Linked DNA regions of Homo sapiens: region 1 is linked to region 2. Evidence: promoter capture Hi-C in 16 types of primary human blood cells and fetal thymus (Javierre and others, 2016). All regions are on one chromosome and are shown on one strand. The core of a region is centred on a gene start or on the middle of the fragment in contact, and the rest is flanking DNA. Distances in the headings are between cores, read along the strand shown. Region 1 overlaps APOOL (apolipoprotein O like). Region 2 holds the start of HDX (highly divergent homeobox).

The links. Contacts are between HindIII fragments. The CHiCAGO score rates a contact against its expected background, and 5 or more counts as called.
Region 1: a fragment that was not itself captured here is called in contact with the fragment with the promoter of HDX in region 2 in 1 of 17 cell types (erythroblasts); the score reaches 7.2 in erythroblasts.

Annotation. Positions count from the first base shown.
Region 1 is chrX:85,042,676-85,047,351 of GRCh38, reverse strand. It overlaps APOOL (apolipoprotein O like), which reads right to left. Exons shown (of 9, transcript NM_198450.6): 2 at 802-906. Among named protein-coding and RNA genes, the nearest start is that of APOOL, 41 kb to the right of the region's middle. The HindIII fragment of the contact is 788 bases long and covers 949-1,736 here.
Region 2 is chrX:84,498,540-84,503,762 of GRCh38, reverse strand. HDX (highly divergent homeobox) reads left to right here and starts at 1,310. Exons shown (of 11, transcript NM_001177479.2): 1 at 1,310-1,421. RefSeq lists a silencer at 1,137-1,286. The HindIII fragment of the contact is 2,765 bases long and covers 757-3,521 here.

The DNA.
Region 1 (4,676 bases), core at 93-2,592, 540 kb before region 2:
AGAAAAACAAACTACTTACACCTGAAGAAAACACTATCCTGAACATGCTTGGCAGAGGCTGATCATGATAGTGAGGAACTCAAAGCTGTGATGTATGAGAAATAGTTGAAGCTACTAAACGCTTTAAAATGTTTATCCTGGAAGCAAAATTACTTAAAGTATAACTGATATTTAAAGGCTTGTTTTTTGAAAGAGAGTTTTCTGTATGGCACCAATGCAAGAGATACAGTACCAACAGGTAGAAGTTATTATGAGACAAATTTCTGTCTGATATAAGAAAGGACCTTAAGTTAAATGAGAGGATTTAGAAAACGGAATGGGCTCCTTAGGCTCCTTTACCTAGAGTTTTATTCATGTAGAAGATATATGGCCACTAAATGTGCCTACTATAGAGGGAATTACAGTACCATACAGAAGGTTGATCTAGAAAACATCTAAGGTCACTTCCAAAACTGAGATCTTAATGAATTTGTTAAACTGAAGTTTCCTAATACTGAATGTACCTGTGTAAGTTTTTCAAGAAAGAAAAATCAGACTGCCTAGAACGTCTAACACCCTCCACTACTTATTGATTATTCATTAAGAAAAATCACTAGTTGTTTTTCACTGGAGTTAGAATTTTAGATGTTTGAGTTACATATTGTCTTTTGAGATACTTCATAACTATTTCTCTCAACTTTTAATATCTACCTAACAAAGACTTCTAAGACATTTTTGATGGGCAAAGATAATTTTAAAAAATATAGCTTTTGTGTCATCTTGATATTATACAAAGTTCATAAACCTTTGTAGGCAAATTACCTGCTCTGGTTTCACTAGCTGCTTTTTGGATTCCTCTTGTTTGGCTGCATGTACACTTACAGATGCATATATCAGACCTGCAGGCATGGTTGTCAGTTTTCCCATCTAAGAAAGATATATCAAAAACATCTTTTTAGTTGAAAAGCTTTCCATCTTCCATTTCCTAATAAATACTGGAGGAATCTCAGGAAATCTATTGGTTTCACTTTAATATATTAAATACTCAAACACTCCAAATTACCTCAGACATTTTTAAGACATAGTTCATAAAATTATCTTCTCATACTGGATGGCAGAGCACTATTTTTACCTGTTTGTTAACTACTTCATAAGAAATATAGCAATATAATATTTATCTGGAATATTATTATGTAATAATATAGCAATGTAATAATTACTAAAATCTGAGGAATGGAGTGGGATTGGTCTTGATATTCATTCAGTCCACAAACATCAATTGAACACCTACTATGTGCCAGACTCTGGTCTTAGTGCTTAGAATATATCAGTGAACAAAACAAAGATTCCTGTTCTCATACAAATGACATTCCAGTAGAGAGGAGGCAGGCAATAAACACAATAAACTATATGTTATATTATAAGTTGATAAATGCTCTGGAGAAAGTAAAGGATAAGAGTGGTCTGGAGTACTGAGTGATGCAGGCTGCATCTTGAAATACAATTTATATTAACATTATCCATAAAAAATGAATTCTTTCTATTATAAATCCTTTGCCCCTGATTTTCCCAATGCATTCCCTTTTACCTGTTTCTTGCTAAATCTAAAGCAAAAAGTGATCTTTGTTTTAGCTATAACTTGATTTGAATTAAGAATGAGGAAAAGTACTGGCTCTAAGAATAAAGTCTTCTAGTGTTATTCAGGTACCAAAATAATTCCCAAAGATTATCCATTCAACAAGGCCAACTGTAAAGCTTTCCAAGGTACAAATATTTTAACACTCTGATTCTTTAGATGGGAAAGAAGCTTCCTGAATTTGACAAAGGACATTATGAGGGAAGCAGTCTCCTTGTTTTACACACAAATAAAATTGTGCAACACCTGGAAGAATCACTGGCTAAAGGATTCTAAATGTTCTCCAATGACAGTGATAGTACCTATACTTCATTTCTGACACTGTTTTTAATATTTTCTGAGAAGAGCAAGGGAAGCTACTCAGGCATCAATCAGTTAAGTAATTTCCTGTTTAAACTGGGCAGGACTCTGATTTAGATTGGGGCTGTAAAAATACAGGGTAAAATTAAGAGTCAACACTAAGAAGATAAATTTTTTTTTATTCTCCTCCCCCATGCCTCCTTCTAGTACAGGAAACAGCATCACAGAATGATTTATCTGCACATGCATCCCTTAAAGACATCAATTTTTTTATTTCTTATACCCAGTTGGTATTCATTAATGAAATAACAAGATTTCCACACCATACCTATGTTAGGTATAATTTAAATGTATATTAAAACTGATGCCAGCAAGTATGGTCCCCATGAACCAGGGAAATTTTGTTAATAAAATCTCTATATTATAGGAAGGATGTAAAATTTTATAACATTGAAAAGCTTTTTTTGAAATACCTGACTAGACTTTACTTCTTCTTAAGAGACTACTCCCTGGATATAAGACAAATACTTTCAAAGTATGCTGAATTTTTTCAACACACTAATGATCACAGAGTATACTCATGTTACTTCATATAATGTAATAATAATATGTAGACTATAAAAGAATTTCATAGATATTGCTGATAATTATGATCTAATATTCCAGATTATGGATTTACTAATTGAGCTCATGGCCTAAAAGTTAATATACCTTGAAAATTGCCTAAGTACTTTCTCCACATTTTTTACTCTGTAAGGTAATAAAGGTCCACCCATTCTTTCCTACTGTCTTCATAGATTCCTTGACTTTTATTGAGGAGGCAGTATGGCACAATGGAAAAAAAATATGAGCTTAGGGCCGGGAGTGGTGGCTCATGCCTGTAATCCCAGCACTTTGGAAGGCCGAGGCGGGTGGATCACCTGAGGTCAGGAGTTCAAGACCAGCCTGACCAACATGGTGAAACCCTGTCTCTACTGAAAATACAAAATTAGCTGAGTGTGGTGGTGCATGCCTGTAATCCCAGCTACTTGAGAGGCTGAGGCAGGAGAATCACTTGAACCCAGGAGGTGGAGGTTGCAGCGAGCCGAAATAGCACCACTGCACTCCAGCCTGGGCAACAAGAGCAAAACTCTGTCTCAACAAAAAAATACATATATATATATATACACACACACACACACATAAATATGAGCTTAGGAGTTACACGGAACTTACTGTCTAAACTTGAATCAATTATTGAAGCTCTTCAAGTTGTGCTGCCCAGTATGGTTACTACTAGCCACATGTGGTTATTTAAATTGAAATTAAAATTATTAATAAATAAAAACTTCAGTCACATTAGTTCCATTTCAAGTGCTCAACAGCCATAATGTAGAGCACAGATATAAAACAAGCCCATCATTGCAGAAAATTCTAGAAAATGTCTTAATTAGGTTAACTATTATTAGGTTAAATATCTGAAAAAATGTGTATGCCATCCTGTTGATTATCACAAGGATTAAATAAGGAGTTATATTAAAATGGCTTACACTTGGTACATAGGCAATTAAGTTTAGTTTCCCATTCCTTCTGTTTGCTGAATAAAAAAATTAAGTGGCTCTGCTTATTCCTCATTTTTCTTTGCACATGTATTTCATGCTAATCAGGCTCTAGTGAGAACAGTGATAACAATAAAATCTATCCAACATATTTATTACCTCCAAACAAAAAAAGGTTGCAATTTTTGTCAAAAGAAATCAGGAAGACTGGCACACTAGGGTATCTACAAGTCTAAGTTATACTGGTGAAGTACATGTCACTATCTTAAAGAGGGAAAGCTAATGGTACAGCACATTGAAAATTTCTGAAAAAAGACTGGCAAGCTACAACTCTGGGCTAAATCTGGCCTGGACTCTAAGTTTAAAATGTTTTTAAAAAACATATTTAAAGATTTGTAAAAACAAAGAAGAATATATGACAAGAAATCTTATGCATGCTGCAAAGCCTAAAACATTTACCATGTGGCCATTTACAAAAAAAAAAAAAATTGCCAGCCTCCAATTTAGAAAACCAAATAAGATATTCAAAAAGTTATTAGAGTTTGGGGTGTTATAAAAAACTTACAGCCTCATGAGGCTGTCATTAATCAAACAGCATTAAAAGTGAGCAGAGATAATCGAGTTTTCACGAGAGGAAAGACCTTAACTTAAAACTATTTGTAACTCGAAATAATAACTCGTCAAGTCAAAATTACGACTTATTTAAAATCAATGAGAGATTAAATACTGGCTCTCTACAAAATATAACAGGTCCTAAAACAGATATCTCTCACATGGAAATTTACAAACAGCAGGGCTAAAATATGAGCATGAGGTAACTTACCCGTAAGACTCACCCCCTCCAACTGTGCCTGCAATAAAAATATAGCTGATTCTTGTTATTTCCAGCAGTTATATTCTATAAAGTAGCTGTGAATACTGATTTACAGAATACTGTACCATTTCTCCAGGGAAAAATACAGGGCGAGCTTCCTGTGATAGCAAGTTTTTTGAAGGTTTTTTATCATGAACTGATGTTGAATTTTATCAAATGCTTTTTCACCATCAGTTGAAATGATTATTATGATTTTAATCCTTCATTCTGTTGATATGATGTACCACACTAACTGATCTGCATATGCTGAACCATCCTTGCATCGCTAGGATAAATCCTACTTGGTCATGATGAATGATCTTTTGAATGTGTTTTGGAATTTGATTTGCTGGTATTTTGTTGAGGATTT
Region 2 (5,223 bases), core at 61-2,560:
GTGACAGGAGGTGAGGTCAGAAAGATGGCGGAGGCCAGATCATTTAGGGCTTTGAGGACATGGTAAGAAATCTGCATTTTATTGTATATGTGAAAGGAAACCATTGAACAATCTGAAGTTGAGCATAATCTGGCTTTTGTTTTAAAAAATCACCTAAACTCCTCTGTAGATAATTGACTATAGAGGATTGAGGTCACATGCTTTATGGCTTTTGGTGGCTTTTAATCAAATAAAAGTTATCTGCCTATTTTCAAAGGCTTTTATTATTAGCCAATTCCATCTACCACTAGTCCTCAGCATATGCCCTCTATTTGTCAAGCTGATTTCATCATGGGCTTCCTCACATCATATGAATTTATACGTCTCTACCTTTGCCTATCTTTCCCCTTTAAGACGGTGACTTCCATCTGCTCTTATCCACCATTCAAGAACCATCTCAAGTTTTAATTACATAAAATGCTTCCCTGACTTTTCACCTCACTGATGTCTCCAATAATTAAATAATGTAGCTCTTGTCTGTAGTTAATGACTGAGCACATGATCATGTACTTTATTTTATTGTTGTGAATATTTACTGTGTGCTAATCTTGTCTTCCAAACGATGTTGCAAGTTCTATGATAGCAGAGAATCAATGAATTCTATATCTCTCATGGCATCCAGCAAATCTGGGAAGTATATCAAGTGACTGTTAAATGATGTAACATGTGGCTTGACTTCTTTTCTGGAATGGTATAATGGTGATCACCCAAGAAGCTTCTGCCAGAATAGGAATTGAGGTTGGATGAATAAAAACCATAGTTTCTTTCCTCAGTCATCAGAGCCAACCAGTCACGTATAATAGTACACTTGCTTTTACTGTAAAATTCTAAAGGCTCGATGGACACCTTATTGATTTTAGTAAAACTGAATATTTACCTGTCAATCGAACACTGACCACAAAGGACTGTATTTCCTTATGCTATCATTTGATTTTGGCAGCATGTAACAATTTTGTTAAAACCCAATGTCAAGTTGGAAGGCCAGGCAGCACCTGCTCAAATGGCTGGCATGTAACTACTATAGTCACAGGGATGCTCGGTGTTCACAGCTATTCAGGAAGGTATAGAGAGCCCTGGCCGTAGATGTAGCTGATTTGTGTGAGGAAGAGGCAGTCCAGTTGCAGGCAGCCATCTCTCTTCCCCCCTCCCAACTCTTGGGTTCTGGGCTGAGGCCAGGGACTGTCCTGAGCTGATCGCAGGCTCCCATTGGCCGCTGTCTTTTGTGACGTCACGATCATGATGAGAATTGATGATCGGACACGCTGATTTCATTGTCTGAAGCGGCACTGGAGACCCAGGAAAAATCTCGCTGAATCCGCCTGCCCCAGCAGCGGCCTGATCTGGGTTCCGCTGATTCCTTTCGTAACCGCACCACACCCGAGGTAAGCACTCAACACTAAGTGGGTGAGAAGGGCGAAGGAGGGAGGGCAAAGCACCGGGATAATGCTTTTCCTAGTTTGGGGCGAGGTTGGGGGTGGGGGGGTCCATAGGTTCCGTGGCCTAAACAGGCAGACAAAAAACTGGTGCGGATCCTAGGGAGCCAAGTGCCTCTATCCTCCTAGCGAAGGCTGGCGGCTGAGTGAGATTAGAAACGAGCTGCGGATAGGGATACAATGGGGATTGCCAGAGAGCGAAGGACCTTGCTCGGAGAGAGAGCGATGTTTGGGACGCGCTTCTGGACGGGTAGTAGGAGGAAGTGGCGCCTCTGCCTCCGAAGAAAGGAGGGGATTGAATTCTACCACTTCTAGATTTCACTGGACAGTAGATTTCTCACAGCCCTACTCAAAGGCACTGAGAGCGTAGCGCCTGCGCATTAGCACCTTGGTGGGGGCGGGGTGGGTCACTGTGAGGAGAATAGGCGTGGAGTTTGCACAGGCGCTGTTTCGGTTTCACTGGAAGAGGTGGGGCTGAGCCATTTCTGTGCTGAATTTGGAAAGTAGAGACCCAGGGAACATCCCAGGCCTTGTGATGTTTCAAGCACCAGTTGATGGGGAGAGATCTGCCATTTAGTTTAAACTGGCCTACTGAGTAAATCCAGCTTCAAAATGAGCCTTATAAATTTGAGAAGGCACATTCTAAATTTCCAGATATTAGATGTTGAATAACGGAATGAACTCTAGAAGAATTTGTGAAATAGAAGTTTATCAGATAAGAAACTGTTTGGAAAAATAAACACTAATTATTCAAATGAATCTAACTTTTAATCTTAAAGGAGCTCTGATTTGAGGTGACAATGATTTTGAACCTTAAATTCTTTGGAAAGACTCAGAATGAAGTCCATTGTGGAGGCTCAGAGTAAGAAATTTTCCTTTCTTGCCTTTTTCTCTTCTTGGGACAATCTCTTATAAATATTTAGTCTCCATATCAAGTTTGGTGCTGAGTCCATCTTCTTCCTCTGTGTCTCTGCTAGAATCACTGAAGTCAAATATTATTTTGAGAAGCCCTTTCCCGCACCCCTTCATTGGGAAGGCTGTTATATTACTTATATTAAGGCTTTTATTACTCAGCAGTTGTGGGGAACAATGAAGAACAACCTGCCTGTCTATTATTGATGAATAGATTGTACAGTATTGTTATTAATTGCCCTCCACAGTCTGATCATAGACTCCTGACAATTTTACAGAGGAATCTGGATTTTTCTCTATTTCTCATAGTTAAGGGATTATCAAGTACTGGTAAATTTTCCTTTGAAAGCCTTCTCACACGTTCCTCCTTTACAATCTAAATTCTCATCAGCACCCATGTAGTCACTGTAGGAGCTTCCTAGGCAGTCTTCACCTGTGCCCCAAATCCTTAGTGGTCTGTGAACACTTCTTTCAACAAATCACTTTCTTTAACCAACATATTCTTGGCCCCTTATTTTCTATTGTTTCAAGCCTAATTCCACCCGAATTTTAAAGAACTTCATAATCTGGCCTCATTGTAATGCAGGAGCCTTATTTTCCTTTATTCTTCAGGGCACAACTCTCTTTAATGTTCAGTTAGTGAGAACAATCTACCTTTATATCTTTGCTCCTTATACCATTACTGTCCCCTCCACGTAGGATGTCCTCCTTCTACATAATTCACATCTTACCCACTTTGGAAACTCAACTCAAATTCCACCCCTCCACAAGTGCCTTCCAAATTAATCTAATGCAAGTGTTACTGACCTCACTTTTCCTAGAATTCCCACGTCAATTATTGTCTTTGTTAGTTGCTTGTAGGCTGCTTTGTATTGTCTCCTTTGTTATTGTTGTTGTTGTTGTTGTTGTGTGTGTGTGTGTGTGTGTGTGTGTTAGACTGGAATCCTCAAATGGATTTTAAACCCTTCCTTAAGGGTTGGGACCATGACATCCATTTCTTTATTATCTGCCCATAGCACCTAACTGAATAATCAAAATAGCTGTAGCTATATATGTTCTTTTTTTTTCCCCTAGAAAACAATTTCCTGGGAAATGAAGCAGTATTTTTATAGAGAGAACTGTATACATGTGAAAGCTTATTCATCGTTGGTCAGGCAAGAGACCCTCCAATGACTAAATAAACCTGAATTTAAGTCAGAGGAAAGAAATTACACAGATCTCTATTTACTGGGTGGCCTTCAAATATATCATGTCCTCATAAACAAGATCAAGGGAGGGAACACTATCCCAGAAGAGGTTCTGTCTGTAATCTTCTCAGTTTGAAAAATACTAAATAAAGAGGTATTCCACTGTTCTATACTTCTCTTTGGTGACATTGTATCATGTATCTTTAAAAATACACAAATTACTCACTTTTTATTACATTTTATCTACAATTGCTATCTTATATTGATTATTCCTGATAGTTTTCATGTGTACATCTCTTGAATCAGAGATGACCTTTGTGATGGTTGTTACAATTGCTATTATATATTGGTTGTCACTTTCCTATCCTTCAGGCTTCAAATTGCATTCTTCTGCAGAGCTCGTTTTACTTGAATGACAGTGTGATTATGGTTTCATACAGAGGTTTTTCACATATTTCACTTTGGCTCCTGCCTCACTTTGAGGTACCATCCCAATATCACATAAAAGTTTTTGACTTAGAAACATAGATTAAAAGCAGTCTGAAGGGTGTTTTAACCTGTAAATTAGAACATCATTATTGTAGATAATTGTAAGTGAACCATGAATGTTATTCATTGTAAGGGAAAATCCTTTGACCTTTTCTCTGATTACCTATATTATATGAAACTCCTCAAAGCTGTTTTAGCTTATAGCCAGCTTTCATAGTAATTGAGACTTTCCTAGACATTTACACATAGACCAATAGAGAAAACTGATCAAACTTAAGCAACTCTGGATAGAATGTGGTGCTTAGAAATATGCTGTTAAGTTTAGAGAGCCCAAAATAAAATATGAAAAAAACTGAGTGTGACATGCGTTTTTTAAGGCTTGTTTTACAATTTCTATCTGGGAGGATGACATTGGGTTTTCTCATTTAAGTTGTAGAGTTTAAGTTGGGAGAGATTTTATAGTGATAAGCCAATCCCCTTATTTTACAAGTAAAGAATCTGAAGCCCAAAGAAGTGAGGTACTTTACTAGCATTAATAAACACTAATATTTATTAAGCACTTAGTGCCAGGCATTGTGCTAAAAACTTTATATATCTTATTACATTTAAACATCACAAAATCTATATGAAAGAGTGTATAGTATTATTTCCCATTTTACAAATGAGAAAACATATTTCAAAGCAGTTGATTTTCCCAGGACCACACAGCTACTATACGTCACAGTCAAGACCCAATCACGGGTTTGACTTCTAATCACCAAGTTATGCTTGACTAAGGTCAATATAATGAACTTTTGGCAGAGCTTTAGCTAGGATCTAAATCTCTGGAATCTGAGATGTGTGTGTGTGTGTGTGTGTGTGTGTGTGTGTGTGTGTGTGTGCATACATTCCATAAACACCATATTACTTCTACAAAGTTAGAGATTTGTAAGATTACCCAAATAAATGGTGTATACCTACATTTGTTTTAGATATTTTATTAAAACACACTCTCTCAGTCTTGATTGAAAAAATATAGCATGAAAATTTGCATAAAATACATTTTAAAAACATTTATTTCCTTCTGCTTTTAAAATTGTATCATACTTCCAGAGGGAATTATATTTTTATAGTGTAATCTCCAACAGAATAAATAAAATTTGAATTGTTGATTTTTATTTTAT